Linked DNA regions of Homo sapiens: region 2 is linked to region 1. The links are contacts of gene promoters, found by promoter capture Hi-C in human tissues and cell types (Jung and others, 2019). All regions are on one chromosome and are shown on one strand. The core of a region is centred on a gene start or on the middle of the fragment in contact, and the rest is flanking DNA. Distances in the headings are between cores, read along the strand shown. Region 1 holds the start of SIX3 (SIX homeobox 3). Region 2 overlaps CAMKMT (calmodulin-lysine N-methyltransferase).

Region 1 (5,564 bases), core at 1,828-4,327:
GTGCCCAGCGCCTGGGAATTTGGGAGGGGAAGCTCTGGCGCTCCACAGCCCTGCTTCCCACCCAAACACGCACTCAGAACCCCTCGACTGAGATCCTATGGAGCCTGCGCCCCCAGCCCGGCGGGGAGCCAGTCCGGCCCTCCGCTCTGGGACCAGCCGCCCCGCCTCCCTGCCCTGCTCTCCGGACTCTCAACTTACCCGCTCCAGGAGGCGGGAGTACTGCTTCAGGCCAGAGCCGAAAGGCGCTGGCGGCGGCTGGACCGCGAGGTGGGCTCGGTGGGCGGCGCCGAGCTCGGCTCTGCTGGGAGGCGCGGACAGCCCGGGGCTGCCACCTGCCCCACCGGGTCCTGGCGCACAAAGCTACACGCCTCTCTGCAGCCCTCTGCCCTGCTTCGCGTTCCGGAACCGCGGTCGCCACCCAAGCAGGCGGGGTGCGGCAGGGCGGCAGGGCGGCAGGCGCTGGGGCAGAGGCTGGGGGGCGGGGGTGTCGCCAGAGTCTCAGCCCCACTTGCCTCAGTTCTCCCTGAGTGGCGATGGTTTTTTATTTCAGCGCTTTCGGCAGAGCCCGCAGCACCTGCCCAGCCTCCCTCCGGGGCTGGCCGGGCAGTGGCAGGGAGAGGCCAGGTCGCCACCACCCGGAGGCGGGGGTTTCGGGGACGGGGAGGGGACTGACCGGGTTCACCCGCCCGCCCGGCGCCTGGGTCCCCGGCTCCGGGGGATGCAGTTTCGGGGTCACGAGCTGCTTTCAAAAAGTTGAACACAATATTCGGAAACCCACCCGTAGGAATTCTCCCCCCACACGCGGCACAATACCCACTCCCCTCCCCTTTTTCATTCCTTCCTCCCCCGCTTCCTCCTCCTGCCCCTTCCCCCTCCCACCCTTCAGCCTATAATCCTTCCCCTACGAGAGAAAGGGATCGGGAAGAAAACATGAAGTGTCTGTTTTTGTGTCCCAACCTTTGGGCTCTTTCTGGGCCCTCAGTGAATGACCGCCCAGAGCTTTCAGCTGCGTGGAGAAGGACTCATGGCCAGGAGGAGAGGAAATATATATGGAGTGGAGAGAGCACTGAAATGGGGCTTGGCAGGTCTTCCCTTTGGAGGAATATTTTTCTGCCCCAGTCGTCGTGTTGAAGACCTGCTACCCCACGGCTGTCTCTGGCTAAGTGAGCCAGTATTGGCCCCTCGCCGGACCCAGGGCCTCCCTGCCGCCCGGAATCCTCCAAGGAGGCTTGCACTTGTCGGCTTGCTCTTCTCCCCGGCCCTCAGAGGCCTGGCACTGCGGGAGTCAAGGCCTAAGCAGGGCTCCAGCTCGGGGTTTAGGGGCTGGGACACTCACAGCCCCAGTCACGTTAGGTTTCCCATTTAAATTCTCTCTCAACCTCTCTTTCTCTCTTCCCTCATTGAGATCACCAAAGTGGTGTGGACACGGCGCCTTGCCCCCAGATCTGCATCGGAATGCAGAAAAGATCTTTAAAAAAAAAAAAAAAAAGTTTTGAATTCCTCAATGATTTTTCTTCTGGAAAGGCAGCTTAGGATAATTATTTCAGCTTTATTGAGGGCAGATTAGTTGAAGTCTGGGCGCTGCGTTTCAATACGCGTTGTACACGGGCCGACAATGTGGTCATTGTTGGCTACTGTGTGTGAATCCATTCAACATATACACTTTTTAACACCAAACCGAGTCCTGTCTAAATATACACAGTGCTCAGGGAAAGACGTCTCTGACCCCGACAAATCTGCGTAAATCACACTTCCATAGTTACAGAAGCCTCACAAAGGGAGGCCCGGCTCAAGATGCTGATTACAGCTTCTTAAAAGCAACATACCTAAGAATAAATACCCATGCCTGGCCTAGGGGCTGTGGTGGCCAGAGGCAGAGAGGGCCCTCTGTGTTCTATGGGCCTTTTGGCGTCTGTTTTAGGCTTTCGATGTTACTTTCCCTAGAGAAATTAGACAGTTTAAAAATAATAATGGTAATTATTATTATTTTACAATACGAGCAAACAAGCAATTTTCAGGCCTTATTCACTTCATCCGGGTGGCTGGCCTCCAAAGTTTGAGTGCCCTCTGGGGCTGGCAGGCAGGACCAGAGCTCCTTCTGTTGTGTGGTGAGGAGTGGGCATCTGTAGGACTTTTCTGGGTCCAGAGGGCTCTTGGGCTTCTCGGCTCCCGCAGCTCCTCCACCACTCCTCAGAGAGGCAGCTGAATTCTGGGAAGAAACAAAGAGTTGAGTTGCTTCTTAAGATGGAAAGAAGTGTACTGTTTGGACTGTTATTTTAAAATACAGGGTGGTGGGGGAAATCGAGGCTCCTTGGCCGGGGAGGGAGTAAAGAGAAGCCTAATTGATGAAGAGGGAGTTGAGGTGAATGCGGTCCATGGGCACCGATGGGGGAGGCAAGAGCGGCCTCCAGCACCCTGGGAATTGGGCTCAGGCTCCCTGGCGCCAGATACCCTCGGAATCCGGGATCCCCGGCTGGCGCCACGGCCCGCTGGGCCAAGGTCGGTGCTTGGTGGGCCCCATGATCTCATCTCTCCTTTCTTCCTTGCCACTATTAGTGCTCACATAGGCAGAAAGAGGCGGCCCGACGTGCAAACCATGTGCAAACCGCGCCCGCTGGGCTGGTCAGCCGTCTTTCCTTGCCTGCCGACCTGGACTATGTGGAGCCTGGGGGACCCTCTTGCCTCCCAACAAAATCCCCTCTCTAATTGCACATCCCATTCAACAACTCTGCCCAGGGCTTTTCGAATTTCTGGATCAACTTCTTTAGGAAAAAGGGAAGAAGAAGTCTCAGAGACAGCGGTAGAGAAAAGAGGAGAGAGAGGGAGAAGAGAGAAGAGAGGAGGGGGAGGTAGCGAGATTAAGAGTTGCAAAGATAAAAAAAATTCTCTTTATCCCCCCACTTCTCCCTCCTTCCCTGCTCTCCCCCTCCCCCCGCCCTCTGGCTAAGTGGTAAAACCGTCCTTACGTTCTCGGTATTGATTGGCAGGGCTGACAGTGATTGGCAGTGGTTGCCGTGGCAACGCCACAACGACACGCCACAGACCAATAGAAAAGCGAAACAAAATGTTTCAATGCTGCACTCACTGTGGATTTAGGGGAGATATTATGAGGCTGTTGTCATTAGGGCGATTGCGGTGGAATCGCTGAATCTTGACTCGGCGGTGGTTGGCTCTCCCTCTCCTCTCTCCCTCTCCCTCTCCCTCTCTGTCTCGGGTTCTCTCTCTGCGCGCGCGCACCGGGCCGCTCTCCTACCTCCCTCTCTATGTGGCTGCGCGGGTGTGTGTGTGTGTGGATGTGTGTGGGGTGTGGGTGTCCCTTACGCCCTTCCTCCTCTCCCTCCTCCTCCTGCTCCCCCCTCCTTTCCTTCTCCTCCTCCCCCCTCTCCTCTCCCTCCTCCTGGTCCTCATCGCCCCTCTCCTCCTCTTCCTCCCCTCTCTCTTCCTCTCCCTGAATTTTCTCCTCTCCTCTCAGGTCAGTCCATGGTATTCCGCTCCCCCCTAGACCTCTATTCCTCCCACTTCTTGTTGCCAAACTTCGCCGATTCTCACCACCGCTCCATACTTCTGGCGAGTAGCGGCGGCGGGAACGGTGCGGGAGGCGGCGGCGGCGCGGGAGGCGGCAGCGGCGGCGGGAACGGTGCGGGAGGCGGCGGTGCTGGCGGAGCAGGCGGCGGCGGCGGCGGCGGCTCCAGGGCCCCCCCGGAAGAGTTGTCCATGTTCCAGCTGCCCACCCTCAACTTCTCGCCGGAGCAGGTGGCCAGCGTCTGTGAGACGCTGGAGGAGACGGGCGACATCGAGCGGCTGGGCCGCTTCCTCTGGTCGCTGCCCGTGGCCCCCGGGGCGTGCGAGGCCATCAACAAACACGAGTCGATCCTGCGCGCGCGCGCCGTGGTCGCCTTCCACACGGGCAACTTCCGCGACCTCTACCACATCCTTGAGAACCACAAGTTCACCAAGGAGTCTCACGGCAAGCTGCAGGCCATGTGGCTCGAGGCGCACTACCAGGAGGCCGAGAAGCTGCGCGGCCGCCCACTCGGCCCGGTGGACAAGTACCGCGTGCGCAAGAAGTTCCCGCTGCCACGCACCATCTGGGACGGCGAGCAGAAGACGCATTGCTTCAAGGAGCGGACTCGGAGCCTGTTGCGGGAGTGGTACCTACAGGACCCCTACCCCAACCCCAGCAAGAAACGCGAACTGGCGCAGGCCACCGGCCTCACTCCCACACAAGTAGGCAACTGGTTTAAGAACCGGCGGCAGCGCGACCGCGCCGCGGCGGCCAAGAACAGGTTAGTGGCGGGGCCCGCGGCCTGGCTACAGCCTCAGAGGCCTGGGAAGGGGAGAGGGGTTGAGATGGGGCTAGCGGAGCGGCCGCTGAGAGCCAGGGAAGCCGTGACTCCTGGCCAGTCGGAGAAAGTTTCCGCTTGTCCGGGACGCGCGGAAGAGGGGGCCGGGCTGGCTGTGGGTGTATTGATTGCTTTGACCAAGAGGGGCTTTCGTCAGGGCAGAGAGTGTGTGCTTGCGACCCGAGTACCCGCAGCCCCTGGGAGACTTAGCCCTGCGCTGCACCCGTGCCTGCCTCCTCAGCCCTGCCGCCAGCTCGGCGATCCTCTGGAGCCTAGAGACAGGGAGGGAAGGAAAGCACTCTTTGCCATCTGGTTCTTATTTCTGTGCGTTGCAAAACCCCGAGAGAAATCCACTAGCGTCAGAGAGAGGAAAGTGAACCTGGGTCCCTATCACAAGGGGAAAAGGCCAGAGGCCACTGCGCAGCGGGCCTGTTTCCCCGCAACGCTGCACGTTGCCTGACCGGGAGCAGGAGAGCCGGGCTGGGAGTGGAGAGGCCTAGCGTGTGCGTGTGCGTGTGTGTGTGCACGCCCGTGTGCATGTACTCGCCCTCCTGTTTCAGCCGAGGAGAATCCCTTTGGTCCTCTAAGCTGGGAAGCGGGCACGAGCAGCCTCGTTGCCGGCAAGTTGGCCACAAAGTCACAAAATTGTATAGGGCTTGACCAACATCACAGGAGCTGGGCCTGGGGGAAGGAGAAAAAGAACCAGAGGGAAAGAAGTGGATAGGCGAAAGGAGTGGGGAGAGAAGGGAGAAAGAAAAGAGGAAGTTGGGTGAAAGCCCTGATGTGGAGCCTGTGTCTTTCTCTATCCAGCCAGGAAGGCCCAGGGCCTGGTGTACTTCAGGGAGCAGGACCCCCAGCTGCTGACAGCTGCCCGTGGGTGGGGGCTGGGTGTGAGTTTCTGGAGGTGTGTTCGAGTTTAGGCGGCCGGGACCTGAGCCCATGGCCCTCTCACCCCTGCCGTGGAGCCCACTTTTCGTCTGATGAGGGGAGCGCCCAGGGTCAAGCCAAGGCCTCCTTGTGGAGAGAATTCCAGACACCAGGTCCAGGCAGAAGGTTCCCGGTGGGGGAAAGGGCAGCTGGAGACTGCTCTGTGCGCCTCTCTTGCCTTCTCCTTTGCCCCTTTTCTGTCTCCCTGCTCTTTCCCCACTTTTCCACCGCCAGCTTTCCTATTTTCTCTACCCTCGGTCCTGCGCTCTGCGCTGGCATCCAGAGAGCAAAGTA
Region 2 (5,564 bases), core at 778-3,277, 400 kb before region 1:
GCAGGAGAATCGCTTGAAACCGGGAGGCGGAGGTTGCGGTGAGCCGAGATCGTGCCATTGCACTCCAGCCTGGGCAACAAGAGTGAAACTCTGTCTCAAAAAAAAAAAAAAAAGGCCATATCTTTGTCTCTAACAGTATAGTCAGCTCAAATCTAAGTCTTCCCCTGTGAACATAAATTATTTTCAGATACTGTTTGGTGCTTAAGGAGGCACATAATTTCTTTCAAGTCATTTGGAGTTTATGCAGCAAGCATAGAGTTGTCATTGTACAAATAAATGTTTTCCATATAGGGCCCCCAAAAATCAACTGGAAAATTCTCAAACCAGTACTTACTGAGATATTTCCATGCATAAACACTGCTAGGCATTTGGGTGTTGCAACAAAAAAAATAGAAGATGCTGACAGCAAAGACCTCCACTCAAGTTGCTTAGAGTCTAACTCAGGAGGTAAGACACATACACATACACACACACACACACACACACACACACACACACACACACACTCTCTCTCTCTCTCTCTCTTTCTCTCTCCATATATGTATATATTTCTATACATGTGTAAAGAAACTTGGCTGGCAATTCAAGGCATTATATAGAAAGATCTAAATGAGTTAGTTGCAAGATAAGAAGAGGTCAGAGAAAGAAGGAAGAGGGAGAGGGGAGGTTTCCTGGAAGAGGCAGAACCACTGTCAGGCCTAGAAGCAGGGACAGTATTCCGAGAAACTGGGGTCTCAGGATAGCAGTTATGGGGTACTTAAGACAGAGACCAGATAAAAGATCATCCCAGAATGGCTTCATCTGGTGAGCTGTGTGTGGGAGATAAAACTGGAAACCTAGACTAATTTAGGTCAGATGGCGGGAGATCCTGGGTGTCAGGTTAGAGAGCTTAGACTTTACTTCCCTTCATCCTCCATTCCTCACTATTATTAAGCTTTTAACAGTTATACTTACTTATTAAAATAGAGAACCGAGTTTAAGTATCATATAGCTTCTTAGATGCAAATTATCGTTTACTAGTATCTTTAACTAGGGGAATAAAGTAGGAATAACCTGGAAATTATGTTCATTTATATGTGATTTTCCTGCTTTTTAAATTAATGCTTTGAAGCAACTGGGGCACACTTTCTCCCAATTAAAGAGAAATCTCATTACTTACTGAAGACCTTAAGAGAAAAGCTGAGAATCTACAGAAGTGCCTTCTTTTAGTGTAAATAGTGGCTCATTTAGTGCCTTTTAGAGCCTCTATTTCTTCCAGTATGATTTCTGCCGTGTAAGTGTAGCCACCAGCACAAATGAAAAGGATGCAAAGACATTTCCCTGTATTAAAGCAATGAATTAATAAAGAGAGCTCTGTTCTGGATTAGTTATGCTTTTAATTTTAATATAAAATAGTCTCTTTAGAATCAAATGCCCTGTGGGACCTATATCTAGAAGGAGGAAGAATGAGCCCCCAGGATTAAGGCTACAAAGAACTGACTGTGGTGCTGAATGTAAACATCAGCTGAGATTAACTATGCTAGTATTTTTATTAGTATTGTTATTATTTTTCTTTATGTGCCGGGTAGAGTTTTGAGTGGTCCAACCCAACCCTATTTTTCTTATAAGCCATATTATTATTTTTTGGTGCATAATTTTTGAGAATGCAAGGATTTTCAGGAAAGCTAGGTGGTTGGTTTTACAAGATAGAAAATTAGAAAATACCAAATTTTTACACAACATAGTTGATGTAATGTAGTAATCATGTATTTTATTTCTCTGGAAATTGTATCCTCACTTATGAAAGCCAGAATACTATTTTAGTAGCATTTATCTATTTAACTTTCATTGTCTGTTGACAGATGTATTTAGAAAATCAAAGTTAATGTAGGATAACCTGGTCGAGTTAGCATTTATTTTAGTTTCTGTTCAGAAGGTAGCAAATATTGGTTTAACCAAAGCTCAGGGGCTAAGATAGGTCAAATGAAGTTTATGAGATTCCATACACTTTCTGGACAAAAATCTACTATACTACTCTTGGAAAAATAATTTGAAAAAGACGTTTTTGAGTAGGCTTAATGTTCTTAATTTAGTGCTCCCCAAAAGAGGAGTATGAGAAAAACATTTAAATTTTGGTATTATGTTAAATACATCCCATGTTTATACCTAAAATAGTCAATGAAATTCTTTTCCTGTGTCAATGATTATTTCAGTGATTACCTGGACATTTGGGAAAGTTAGCAATTAATGCCAAGGGTTATTTATTTTGTCACTGGTTCAGAAATGCCTGTTTATACAAATCAAGACTTCCAGCAGCTTGAGCCTTCTTTTTCTTTTTGAGCTGGTAGAGTCAATGGTTAAAGGACAAAAATTCTACAATTGATTGAGTTACAAATGAATACAGTGTTAATTAAGCCAGGCCATTGTCTTTAAAGTGGAGTCAGTACATTGGAAGTCAGATTTCTCTTGCTGTTTAGTCAAACTGCCTAAGGCTGCAACTGCTTCCTTATTAGGTTACTAGCTTTGGGGAGATGTCATTGTTTGCTGCTGTAGCTAGGCTTTCTGTTAAAAATCACAGCATGAGGCTTAAACTGCTGCAACCATTATCCAGTGCTAACATGTCACTAAAGGTCTGCTAATAGAACAAGAGGAAAAATATCAATCTTTAATTTTAGATCAGCCAAGTAATCTGTAGCACCTGTTCATTTTCTCTCATCAACCCATTTAAAACAAGACTAGAGTGATTCTTTGATGGGCAGGCTATAAGATTCTAATATTTTTTGCCTTTTCTTATCAGAGGAAAATTTAGACTTTAAGACTAAAGAATAGAAAAAATAAACTGTAAGTACATTTCCTTTAAAAATTTTATTTAAGAGGTAGAATTATCTGATGTAATCCAATGATGACTAGGTTATTATAAATAATTTTTTAAAGAATAATTTTGTTTAATTTTCTGAAATTTACTTTTTAGATAAAAGCTAATCAATGAGGACATAATACACTGGTCCAAACAGCAAATTTTCCATAGAGAGCAGAAACTCTTTCAAGCTTTAGATGACAACCAACTTACATTTACCTATTCAGATATAATAAACAGAATTAGAACTTAGCAGCTGCTAGCTTTCCCTTACATAGACCTCAAGGCTCTGTCACGGTATGGGGCAAAATTAAAGAAAACATTGTGTCCTGCTCTTAGGAGAGGTGAAAGGATTGCTTCTGCAAACCACCATTAGCAATGCGAGTTCCAAAACATTCCCAGTGATGCTAGACCAAGTACTACACTTAGCAAATAAACATATAATAAGAGAAACATAAAACTTAGTAAACCTTTACAGTCCCCAAGTATATCCATCTTTTATTTAAATTAAAAAATCAGTTACTACTCTGAGCCTGTCTCTTTACTAGGCATTGAGAACATCAAAATGAGTCATAATACATGTACCCTGCTCTTCCTCGTGGAACTTATGGTCTATTATTGATCCTCTGTATAAAACCTTTCTCAGAGCTAGTACACATGCAGTTTTTGTTTTGTTTTGTTTTGTTTTTGTTTTTGTTTTTTTTGCTGGTGAGGAAGTTGAGATACAGGGAGGTTGTGACTTGTCTATGGTCACAAGATAAGTGGCAGAGTAAGGATTAGAAGAATCCGGTGTTCTAACTTCTAGACTCGGTCTTTTTTTTTTTTTTTTTAACTATATCAAGATGAAGATACCGGAGGGGAGAAGGGGATTATGAAGGCACAGTTTTAATGGACACCTTGTAGAATAATACAAGAGTGGAGTGACAGTATGGGAGCCTTTGATTAAAAAATTAATTCTAATGATGAAAATCTAGAAGCCAGATATAATTTAAGTATCTTCAAAAGGAGGGATCATCAACTCATTTAAAACAAGTCTACAGTGATCCTTTGATGAACAAGCTATAAGATTCTAATATTTTTTGCCTTCTCTTATCAGAGGAAAATTTAGACTTTAAGTAAGACTAAAGAATAGAAAAAATAAACTGTAAGTAAATTTCTCTTAAAAATTTTATGTAAGAGGTAAGATTAGCAAATTGCATCTTTTATATAGAGAGTTATCTTTTGTCTATAACATTCATCAGTATCTGATCATATTCTTTTGGATCTGGCTATCTTAGACTGCTAGGACACACACACACACACACACACACACACACACACACACACACACACACATACATGCACATACCCCTATACCTATGACCAATTTCACATCTAAGTTCTGACATTTAGCCCTAAAATCTCCTTCTTAGCCCAAAGCCGCTGTTGGCCTTGTCCTGGAAATTCCAACTTTTAGCATTTTCTTCAGTGGTCACTTGTGTGATGCATCTCTCCTGAGGTCTACATCAGAGCAGGCTCAGCCTCATTCTGCCACGACCATTTCCATCATCACAAGTACTTGATCTGTTTCACGTTTTATGGAATCGATAAATCTCATCCCTAAAGAGTCCAGCAGGCCTTTGATTCCTGACCTGACATTTGCTAATGCTATTCCTGATGACCTGCCACTACGGATCTGCAGCACTGCACTCTTGTGTTTGACAACACTCATAATATGAATCAATATTCAGCATTCAGTAAGTGAGCTGGGGAGTCATTTCACTGCTGCAAAAGGCTGCGTTGCCCCTGGGCAGCTGTCAGAAATGGGTAGTTATTAATAGCCCTCTCTTTTCACTTAGCATAGTCAGTAGGGGTCAGGCATGAAATGATTTAATCAGTTTATGATATCTGTGACAGAGAGCACTTAAAATGTAATCACAAAATTTAGGTAGAAGTGTCCCTGGGCTGTTGTAATGTTTTTCTCACTTAATTTTCCCTAATGCTGATACAGTGTAGTGCACACTGAGAGACTGACCATACAACAAAATGACATATGAGTTGGTGTTGGTTTCATTTCTCTCTCAGTAAAGTTGCCTTTTTAGTGGGGGTTTTTACTTCACAACATAGACCACAAATCCTAAGGGTAAGTGAGTATAAATCCCTTGGGTTGGCTTGCTTGGCTCTGCAAAATGTGTCCAAAATGTGTTGAGGGGTCCTGAGGGTGGGGAAGAACTTGATTGAGCAGAAAAATATCAAGCTTAGGTTTTTTGTTATTGTTATTTTCTGTATCCTCAAAGAAAATGTTAATGTGCTAGGATTCAGAGGACATTTTCCAGGTACACAAACCTAGTTGAACAATATCAGTAGTCTTATTGGGTCCTCTAGCAGTCACTTGGAAATAAGCTCAGCAGAAGTAAAAGTAAAAACTGTTCTATGCTGATAGTTGGAAAGACAGTACCTCAGCAGGGATTGGTCAAGCTGGGAATTCAGGGTTCAAGTAAGAAGAGTGGCTCTAAAAAATGTTAGATGATGCTGACGTGGTGGTGCATGCCTGTGGGGCTACTCCGAAGGCCGAGGCAGGAGGATCACCTGAGACCGGGAACTTGAGGCTGTAGTGCACCATGATCATGTCTGTGAATAGTCACTGCACTCCAGCCTGGGCAACATAGTAAGACCTCATCTCTAAAAAACAAGAAAGATATGATAGGTGAAAGATGACCCTAAACTTAAAAGGCAGTGAAAAAAATCA

Evidence for each region. The method cuts DNA at HindIII sites, captures the fragments that hold promoters and counts their contacts. A contact is called where the count stands out against the background at its distance.
Region 2: a fragment that was not itself captured here is called in contact with the fragment with the promoter of SIX3 in region 1 in 1 of the 25 tissues and cell types used here (H1 embryonic stem cells).

What each region holds. Positions count from the first base shown.
Region 1 is chr2:44,938,625-44,944,188 of GRCh38, forward strand. SIX3 (SIX homeobox 3) reads left to right here and starts at 3,078. Exons shown (of 2, transcript NM_005413.4): 1 at 3,078-4,286. The coding sequence starts at 3,481. It overlaps SIX3-AS1 (SIX3 antisense RNA 1), which reads right to left and starts at 3,254. Exons shown (of 2, transcript NR_103786.1): 1 at 3,086-3,254; 2 at 1,530-2,209. It overlaps LINC01833 (long intergenic non-protein coding RNA 1833), which reads right to left and starts at 575. Exons shown (of 2, transcript NR_147195.1): 1 at 199-575. RefSeq lists a silencer at 271-400 and enhancers at 742-1,243, 1,244-1,743, 2,512-3,038, 4,121-4,845. The HindIII fragment of the contact is 28,963 bases long and covers 1-5,564 here.
Region 2 is chr2:44,542,033-44,547,596 of GRCh38, forward strand. All of the region lies in intron 3 of CAMKMT (calmodulin-lysine N-methyltransferase), which reads left to right. Among named protein-coding and RNA genes, the nearest start is that of CAMKMT, 180 kb to the left of the region's middle. RefSeq lists an enhancer at 2,024-2,802. The HindIII fragment of the contact is 4,043 bases long and covers 7-4,049 here.